Regions from separate parts of the Homo sapiens genome. Here regions 2 and 3 are each linked to region 1. Evidence: promoter capture Hi-C in human tissues and cell types (Jung and others, 2019). All regions are on one chromosome and are shown on one strand. Each heading gives the region's core, a stretch centred on a gene start or on the middle of the fragment in contact. The rest is flanking DNA. Distances are from core to core; before and after follow the strand shown.

The links. Contacts are between HindIII fragments. The study calls those that stand out against the background at their distance.
Region 2: a contact is called between a fragment that was not itself captured here and the fragment with the promoter of RAB31 in region 1, in 2 of the 25 tissues and cell types used here (liver and mesenchymal stem cells).
Region 3: a contact is called between a fragment that was not itself captured here and the fragment with the promoter of RAB31 in region 1, in 2 of the 25 tissues and cell types used here (IMR-90 fibroblasts and dorsolateral prefrontal cortex).

What each region holds. Positions count from the first base shown.
Region 1 is chr18:9,707,045-9,709,962 of GRCh38, reverse strand. RAB31 (RAB31, member RAS oncogene family) reads right to left here and starts at 1,662. Exons shown (of 7, transcript NM_006868.4): 1 at 1,519-1,662. The coding sequence starts at 1,557. LOC124904244 (a long non-coding RNA gene) reads left to right here and starts at 1,991. Exons shown (of 2, transcript XR_007066281.1): 1 at 1,991-2,918. It overlaps LOC105371981 (a long non-coding RNA gene), which reads right to left and starts at 1,291. Exons shown (of 2, transcript XR_935131.2): 1 at 1-1,291. RefSeq lists silencers at 1,068-1,297, 1,398-1,967. The HindIII fragment of the contact is 12,091 bases long and covers 1-2,918 here.
Region 2 is chr18:9,779,847-9,782,623 of GRCh38, reverse strand. All of the region lies in intron 2 of RAB31 (RAB31, member RAS oncogene family), which reads right to left. Among named protein-coding and RNA genes, the nearest start is that of RAB31, 73 kb to the right of the region's middle. The HindIII fragment of the contact is 8,364 bases long and covers 1-2,777 here.
Region 3 is chr18:9,797,773-9,800,792 of GRCh38, reverse strand. All of the region lies in intron 3 of RAB31 (RAB31, member RAS oncogene family), which reads right to left. Among named protein-coding and RNA genes, the nearest start is that of TXNDC2, 87 kb to the left of the region's middle. The HindIII fragment of the contact is 3,726 bases long and covers 1-3,020 here.

The DNA of each region.
Region 1 (2,918 bases), core at 413-2,912:
ACATCAAGGCTGCCTCTTCATTCCTTGGAACACGACATTCCTTCTAAGTCTCTGAAGGCCTTTCCTGAGGCTGAAATGGCCCCTCAAGAGGGAAGCATGGGATTCCTGGAATTTATGTCTGGAAATATTAGAGGGCCTGGGGAACAGGAAAACCCACTCCTGCCACACAAAAAGGTCAACAGAGAAAGACCAGACTAGATCCTGGCTGTGGCTGAGCAAGTCGGGGGAGGTGGGGATCTGTGCGGATCTGTGCCAGGGGCTAGCAGGGAGGGCAGGGCCTTCCCAGATCCTCTGGAATTCTAAGCCAACCGGACAATCGAGTTAGCGTAAGGGATGGTTTTGGAAGAGGCCGGTGATGGGAGCCGATGATGGGAGCCTGCCGGAGGTTCCACAAGAGCCTAGAGGAAGCCTAGAGACGCTGGCACAATTCAGTCCTCACCGAAATCATTTCCTCTTTCTACAGTTCTTGTACCCCCATCTTGACAGATCAGTTCGCACAAGAATGCGACCCTTTCGCTGCCCTTTTTTAGGAAATGGTTTTCATGAGACCAGCTTTGCCAATGACACGGGCGGGTACACCAGATGCTAATGGCTGCTGAAAACGCCCTTAGAACCGGCTCTTCTTTTAGAAGAAGGAATTCTGGAATGCGGAGTGGGCCCCCGAAAGGAAGCGACCCTACGTTTATCTGAATTCCCAGGGGCGGTTCGCCAGCGGCTCCCTGCGTCCTCGCCGGGTCCCCTGTCTGCAGTCCCCGGGCCGCACGGATTGACTGCTTTTTTGTTTCTGGCTGCTTTAAGGCTTCTTCGGGCGGAGAAAACCCCACTTTAGGGGAGTGATGGTGGGGAGGACTTTCCCAGGCAGCTTCTTTCACCCGCAGCAGGGAAGTTTGCAGGGCGCGCTCCGCACAGGTCACTGCCTCACCTTCCACCCCGGCCGCGCCCTCGGCTTTCACCCCCTTGGCTGGGTTCGCTTTTGGTTTTATTTTTCTGTTTTACGTGAGTAAATCAATTGCCCCCAGGAGGCAAAAGAGCACTCAGCGACTTGGCTGAGCAACTTAAACTTTCTGCCGGAAGGAAACTATCAAAAGCGGAGGAGAAAGCCCTCGGGGCCCCAGACTCGCCGCCACTGCCCCGTCCCCGCTGGGGGTCCCCGCGAGGTCGCCGCGGATCCGGGGACTCGCGGGCCGGGAGGAAAGAGCGGAGTAAGCCCGGGGCAGGCTCGGACCCGGACCCCGGCAGGGTGAGAGCGGGGGCGGACCAGAGGGGCGCACGGACGGCGGGGAGGCGGAGAACAGGCGGGGTGCGGAGAGCGAGGGGCGCGGAGAGCGAGGGGCGCACGGACTAGGGGAGCCAGGGGGACCCGGGGAACCAGGGGGCGCGCGGACGAGGGGGACGGGGGCTACGAGAGGGGTGCGGAGAGCGAGGGGATCACGGGGACTGAGCGCGCAGGGAATAGGGGAGCGAAGGGGCGCGAGAGCGCGGGCCGGGGTCCGCCGGCGGGTGGCGGCCAGGACTCACCCCGAGAAGGCACACTTTGAGCTCCCGTATCGCCATCATGTGCTCGCAGCCAGGCAGTGCCGGGGCTCAGCAGCATCCTCCGGGGCCGCCGCGCCCGCGCCCCGCCGGCGTCTCTCGCCTCTGCCCCTCGCTCGCGCCGCCCGCGGGCGGAACCGCCGCCGCTGCTATTTCTGGGCCGCCGGCCCCGCCGCGGTGGGTCACGTGGCCGCCGGCCGGCTCCTCCCGGGCGCGTCGGGTCCAGCCTCGCCGGCCCCCAGCTCCCAGGAACGCCCCCGGACGGCGTCAGCCACCCGGGACCTGCGGCGTCGCCGGCGGATTGCCTCCGCCCTCGGACCAGCCCCGCGCGGGTCGGCCTCCCCCAGCGCCCTCCGGCATCCGCCCCTCCCGGCCCCGCCTGGCCGCAGGGCCCGGGTGGGTAGGAAGGACTGGACCGGCCCTGTGGAGACCTGGCCCCACTACCAGCGGGTCCCTGAAGATGCCATTCTCATCTGGAAAGCGAATGCTCTCGGCCGAGGCCGTTTGCGTGGCAGCGCGTGGAGGTCTGCGGGGGTCCCATCCTCAAGCGACATTCTGGGTCCCACGCAGAAAAAGTCAGGCCACTGAAGGGGCCGCTGTGAGGACAGGGGTGAGGAGAAGGGGGCTAACTTTTCGGCCTGCCTTTCTCGACGTTCCTAATACCCGAGCTTCCGTTTAACATATGTGTGGCTCTTCAGCTCAGCCAAGTTCATTTTTCTGTATGCAGCTGAAAATGATTCTAGAAGCAAAACTCGCTGTCCGTGTCTGAAACGGGAAACTTGCTTTCTGGAGCAAAAGTCTTTTTCTCAGTAGAGCAAATCCTGCAACTCGTGTGGGCAGAAACCCAGTCCTCAGAGGTACAGGTAGAAACGTGGAGATCCCAGCAGACCCCTGCATCGTTCCTAACTGGGAAATGAGCAGAGTCTGTGGCCGCACACAGTCGGGGAGGCTTGGGTAACTGTGTTCTCTTCTCCATGTATGGCCTAGAGCACCTCATCCACTCGGATGACTTCATTCGTTGCTGCTACAGAAATGTCAGCCTTTTCAATGTAATCTATCTGAACAATTCACTGGCATTTCAGATGGGAAATGTTTTTTTAAAAACTGATTTTTTGAAACTTCATCTCCTATCCCAAACTCTCAGGCCTCTCTCTTAACCTTCCAATTTTAATCAATGGCATTTCCATTCTCCTAGCAGACCACCCACCGTGATCATCTGGCTTTGTTCTTACGGAAGCCAGGTTGAAGCTACCCAGTACCCAAGTAGCCCCATCCAATGGGAAATTCCAAATCAAGGCCTCCAAAGAGATAAGTCCTGGAATACAGGAGTCAAAATGGGCCCCGAAACAGACAATTCACAATTAAATTCCCCAGAAGAGCAGGAA
Region 2 (2,777 bases), core at 116-2,615, 73 kb before region 1:
CTGACTTCATTATCTGTGGAAACCAAAATCTGGCAGAGAAGTTACACAATTTCCTTACAAAAGTTGAAATAAAAAGGGAGACACACACATACACACACACTCAAGATGTTAATGCAATCTGCTTGAATAGCAGAGCCAAGGTTTTTCAGTGTGAGTCAGAGAGGCCATAAGAGTTAACTCTTTTAATGCTGAAGCAATGGCATTTTACAGCCCATGGCATTGTACCAATGGTCGTGTGATTCCAGTGGGAAGAACAAGGGTGGGCTTTGAGAGTGGACTCACTGGTGTGAGCCATGAGTGGGCTGCTCACGGGCTGTGTGCACCTAGGCAAGTCCCCTAACCGCCCTGGGCCTGGGGGTGGCCAGCAGGGTTACCGCCAAGAAGGCAGTGCCAGGGCCAGGAACTGAAATGTCTAGGGACCAGGCAGGACATATAAATGAGTGAAGCAGGCTAGGTGTGAACGTTTATACTGATGAACATAATAGTAACAATACCTAGCGGGAATGGCATGAAGCCGGGAGGCCTGGCCACCCATGCGGAGTGGCACCGGCTGGCTCCCACCACATGGGAATGGGCACCAGGGCTCCAAACCCACTGATTTTTCAAGAGAAACCAGGAATGCAAGTTTATTACGTGCCAGTCTCCTGATTCTCTATTGGCTTAAAGTCTTTACAGCACTGTGAAGGCTGAACAAAACAAATATATTAATATAAGCCAGTTCCTCAGCCCACCGAACCTACCAGCTTTTGGGAAAGCACTCAAACGTTTTAAAAGTGTTCCATTTATGCCACCTTCCAGGAAAACTGCATGTGTCACTTAGAAAGTGTTCCCACTAGCTTTATTTTTCTGCAACTGGTGTTTGAAAACATTTTCTCAAAATTCCAGAGGGAAAATTTTCATCAATTTTTAAATCAAGAAGTTAAATTATATCAAGAAGACAATACATAAGGGTGGAGGGGCTGAGCCTAACATTGACTCCAGAGGAAAAGCAAGGGACGAGGTAGAAAGCGAACAGGGCTGGGCGCGGTGGCTCACGCCTGTAAACTCCTTTGGGAGGCCAAGGCGGGCAGATCAGCTGAGGTAAGGAGCTCGAGACCAGCCTGGCCAACATGGTGAAACCCTGTCTCTACTAAAAATACATCAGCCAGGCGTGGAGGCGAGTGCCTGTAATCCCAGCTACTTGGGAGGCTGAGGCATGAGAATTGCTTGAACCTGGGAGGTAAAGGTTGCAGTGAGCCAAGATCGCGTCACTGTGCTCCAGCATGGGCAACAGAGAAGACTCTGTCTCAAATAAAAAAAAAGAAAAAAGAACAGCACACAATACCATGCTGCCATCATGTAAAATTGTTTTAACAAAGAAACATTAAGCTACGAGAAAATGCGAACATTTGAAGTTAGAGGAAAAGAATAGAATTCAAAATCATACAAACTTTTACAATTTTATAAAGTTAAAAATTGTACAAAAAAAAATACCTAAAGCTGGTACAGAGATAACCTTTCCGAAAAACAATTTGGTAATATCCATTGAGAGCCTTAAATAGATTTTTATTCTTGGACTAAATTATTCCATTGCTAAGAGTTTAACCTAAAGAAATAATCAGCAGTATACATGGGTATCTATGCCCAACGAGGTACATCATAACATTATTTATTTATGTTTTGTTTTGTTCTGTTTTGTTTTGTTTTTTGAGACAAGAGTCTCACTCTGTCTGTCACCCAGGCTAGAGTGCAGTGGCACAATCTCGTCTCACTGCAACCTTTGCCTCCCGGGTTCGAGCGATTCTCCTACCTCAGCCTCCCAAGGTAGCTGGGATTACAGGCGTGCACCACCATGCCTGGCTAATTTTGCATTTTTAGTAGAGATGGGGTTTCACCATGTTGGCCAGGCTGGTCTTGAACTCCCGACTTCAGGTGATCCATTTGCCTTGGCCTCCCAAAGTGCTGGGATTACAGGCGTGAGCCACCGTGTCTAGCCTCATAACATTATTTATAAAAGTACAAAAGTGTTTAAACAACCTAAATGCCTGAAGTGAAAAATACAACCATTAAAAATTGTTTTTAAAGACTATTTAATGGCATGAAATTCACAAAATGATGTTGAATAAATAACGCATACACACACTTATACAAGAAAAGGGCTGGAAGAAAATAACAAAATGTTTACAGTAATTACCTCTAAGAGGTAGATTATGGGTTTTTAAAATATTTTTCCTCATGTTTTTTTCATTTTCAGTTGTTTATGATGAGTATATAATACTTTTATAATCAGAAAAAATACTTTCAACATGTTTTTGAAGATTATGTGACACTGTAAAAAATGTTCAAAATATATTAAGTAGAAAACACAGAGTAAAAAAAAACTGTATGTACACTAAGATTCCTAGTTTCATGAATTCTGTGTTCTTTGGGTTTTTTTTAGAGTGAACATGAACTTTTTTTTTTTTTTTTGGAACAGTATTTCACTCTGTTGCCCTGGCTGGAGTAGAGTGGCACAATCATGGCTCACTGCAGCCTCAACCTCCAGGTCTCAGGTGATCCTCCTACCTCAGCCTCCCAAGTAGCTAGGACTCCAGGCACATGCCACTACACCCAGTTAATTTTTGTATTTTTTTGTAGAGACCAAGTTTCGCCCTGTTGCCCAGGCTAGTCTCAAACTCCTGGGCTCAAATGTTCCACCTGCCTCAGCCTCCCACAGTGCTGGGATTATAGGCAGGAGCCACCACGCCCAGTCGAACATGAACTTTTATAATCAAAACAATTAGACTTTAATCTTGTCT
Region 3 (3,020 bases), core at 60-2,559, 91 kb before region 1:
AAAAAAGGGGGGCTGGTCATACTCCACATACTGATAGTCAACACAGAAACAAATGTGGACAAAAGCAATTTTCAGTGAATGTGATTTCTAACTGCTAAAGCTCCAGAGTGGGTTATCCAGAAAAGATGAAAGTTGGCTCATCTGCTTCCAAGGCCAACAGAGAATGAGGACAGAAAGCTCAGAGACAGAAGCTTGAGTGGGTCTAGAACAGGTAAGAAGGGGGTCAGGGAAAGAACTCCCTGCCAAGGAAAAAGTACAGAGAATTCCACCACTGCCGCTTCACTGGGCTCTTTTTAGAAACCATTTTCCAACATGGGGAGGGGCCGTCTGAGCCAAGAGGAAGGAATAAATATATCTTCAGAGCCATGGAAAGTCAAACATTAGCTCTACAGCTTCAGGTTTTTTAATGGGAAATTTGTGTTGGAACGTCATGAACTGTGTAAAAGTATAGCACGGTGGAAAAAAATGGAAGGGAGATGGCTGAAGAAAGTTTCAGGTTGGAAGAAGTTGGTCCTCCATGGTATATAGAGCAAGAGAACCCAGGAGGGGCCGCTGGCAGATGAAAGTATTATCCCCAGCTCTTCACCTCTTCATGAACGCATGCCTTATTTATGACAATGTTGCTTTTCAGCTCCTCTCGCTAAAAGCCACTCTATGTGTTGACTCTAGGCTCCCGCAGGGAGCTGGGCAGGTAAATTACCTTCTGTCGGCTATGGACCGCTCTAGGCATGGCTCCTGTGTACATCCTTGCAAAGGTGCCTGCTGACCTGCTACTCTGTACTGTTCACAGCTTGGTGTGAAGCAGAAACCAGCACAATAACCCATTCCAAGAGGACAGGATAAAAACTTCCCAAAGGCCACACTGATGGTACAACAGAGGGAGCCCAATGGCACTCTTCCCCTCTTCATAGTCCTTGGTGGTACAACACACCATGCACAAATCTTACTAATGTCAAGCTTCCAACAAATGGGATTCAACTGGGAAATGGTTAAATTTTTCAAAAAACATTTTTGTTAATAGATGCACCCTATGAATTACCATATCACCACTGAATGAATGAGATAGGATGCCCATGACACACAGTTGGATTAAAAAAGCAAAAGCAACATTCAGACAGTATCAAGAATGAATAGGCTGGGCACGGTGGCGCACCTGTAGTCCCAGCTACTCTGGAGGCTGAGGCGGGAGAATCGCTTGAGCCCAGGAATTTGAGACTACAATGAGCTATGATCATGCCATGGCACTCCAGCCTGGGTGACAGAGTGAGACCCTGTCTCTAAAATAAATAAATAAAAATAAATAGAATGAATACTCTCTTATATAAAGAGGAGGAGGATCCTTTGAGATTCCTGTGCTCAGGAGAAGAAAAAATAATTTTCCAAGAGTACAAATTTGTACCACAAATATAAGATAGAATTATTACTGGGCAGTAAGTAGGACATTAACCAGAATGCTGTGTATGTTAGGCAGAACTTGGTGCAATCATTCCACAAATAAATAAATATTGAATCATGAACACAAGCAAAGCACTGAGCGGAGCTTTCTTCCTTTAAGGACACAGAAATCCATGTCTTTGGCCAGGCTTGGTGGCTCACGCCTATAATCCCAACACTTTGGGAAGCCAAGTGAAATGGATTGCTTGAGGCCAGGAGTTCAAGCCCAGCCTGCACAACATAGCAAGACCTCATCTCTAACAAATTTTTTTTTTGAGGTGGAGTCTTGCTCTTTCACCCAGATTGGGGTACAGTGGTGCAATCTCAGCTCACTGCAACATTCGCCTTCTGGGTTCAAGCGATTCTCTCACTTCAGCCTCCCAAGTAACTGGGACTACAAGTGCCACCACGCCCAGCTACTTTTTCTATTTTTAGTAGAAACGGGGTTTCACCATGTTGGCCAGGCTGGTCTCGTACTCCTGACCTCGTGATCTGCCCGCCTCGGCCTCCCAAAGTGCTGGGATTACAGGCGTGAGCAACTGTGTCTGGCCCAATTTTTTTTTTTTTTTTAAATTAGCTGCGCATGGTGGCATACACTGGTAGTCTCAGCTACTCAGGAGGCTGGAGCAGGAGGATTGACCAGGCCTGGGAGTTTGAGGTTGCAGTGAGCTATGATTGCATCACTGCACTCCAGCCTGGCTGACAGAGTGTGACCTTGTCTTAAAAAGATAAAATAAAATAAAATAAGAAAGAAAAAAAGAAATCTGTCTTTATATTGTCAAATCATAAACCCAAAGTGATTGTTTGTTTAAAATTATGAAAACTAAAAGAACAATAACATTTCTATGATGATAAAGAGGGGTAATAAAATTCACGGGACTCCAATAATTAATGAGACAGAACAAATAGCAATAGGCACAAGCAACAGCAGGGAATTTATTTTTAGCTCAAACATTAGGCAACATCATTACAAGCACAATTAAAGCCAGCAACAAGCTGCCAAAACAATTGAAAAATTGCCATTACTGGAGAGATGCAAGACTCCACCAGGGGACACCAGACAAGGACAGCCCAAGGATAATGAAATCAGGCCGTCGAGGGCTGGGGAGATCAGGTGACCACATAGCCACATGGATATCAGTCACACACTCTCCACAAATCTAGACTCTAAAAATGTTCACTTTGAAATCGTTATCCCAAACTAAATCCGTCTTCCTCGAAGTATAAAGAAAGAATATCCCTACTGTGGAGTCATGCCTTGCATGTATAATGCTAGTGATTTCTTTAAAATTATGGATGTATCAATGGAGTCAGATGTCTACAACCTCTAAAAGTCAAATTTTAGGAAAAGCAATCACAATAATTAGAAATATGGTCATCTGAAAACTTCCCACTGGTATTTTTCTTTGCGATGGTAAGTGGAACAAACTACAAACTACAATAGTCATTTTCGCAGATTTCAAGTTTCATCAAAAGACTATTCCTTGAATAGCCTGTTAGAGGTAAGTGTTAAACATTCTGTTTTGATCACACAGAAATCTTTCCTTTGTGACACTGTAATATCAAATGAAAACAGCAGGTTATAA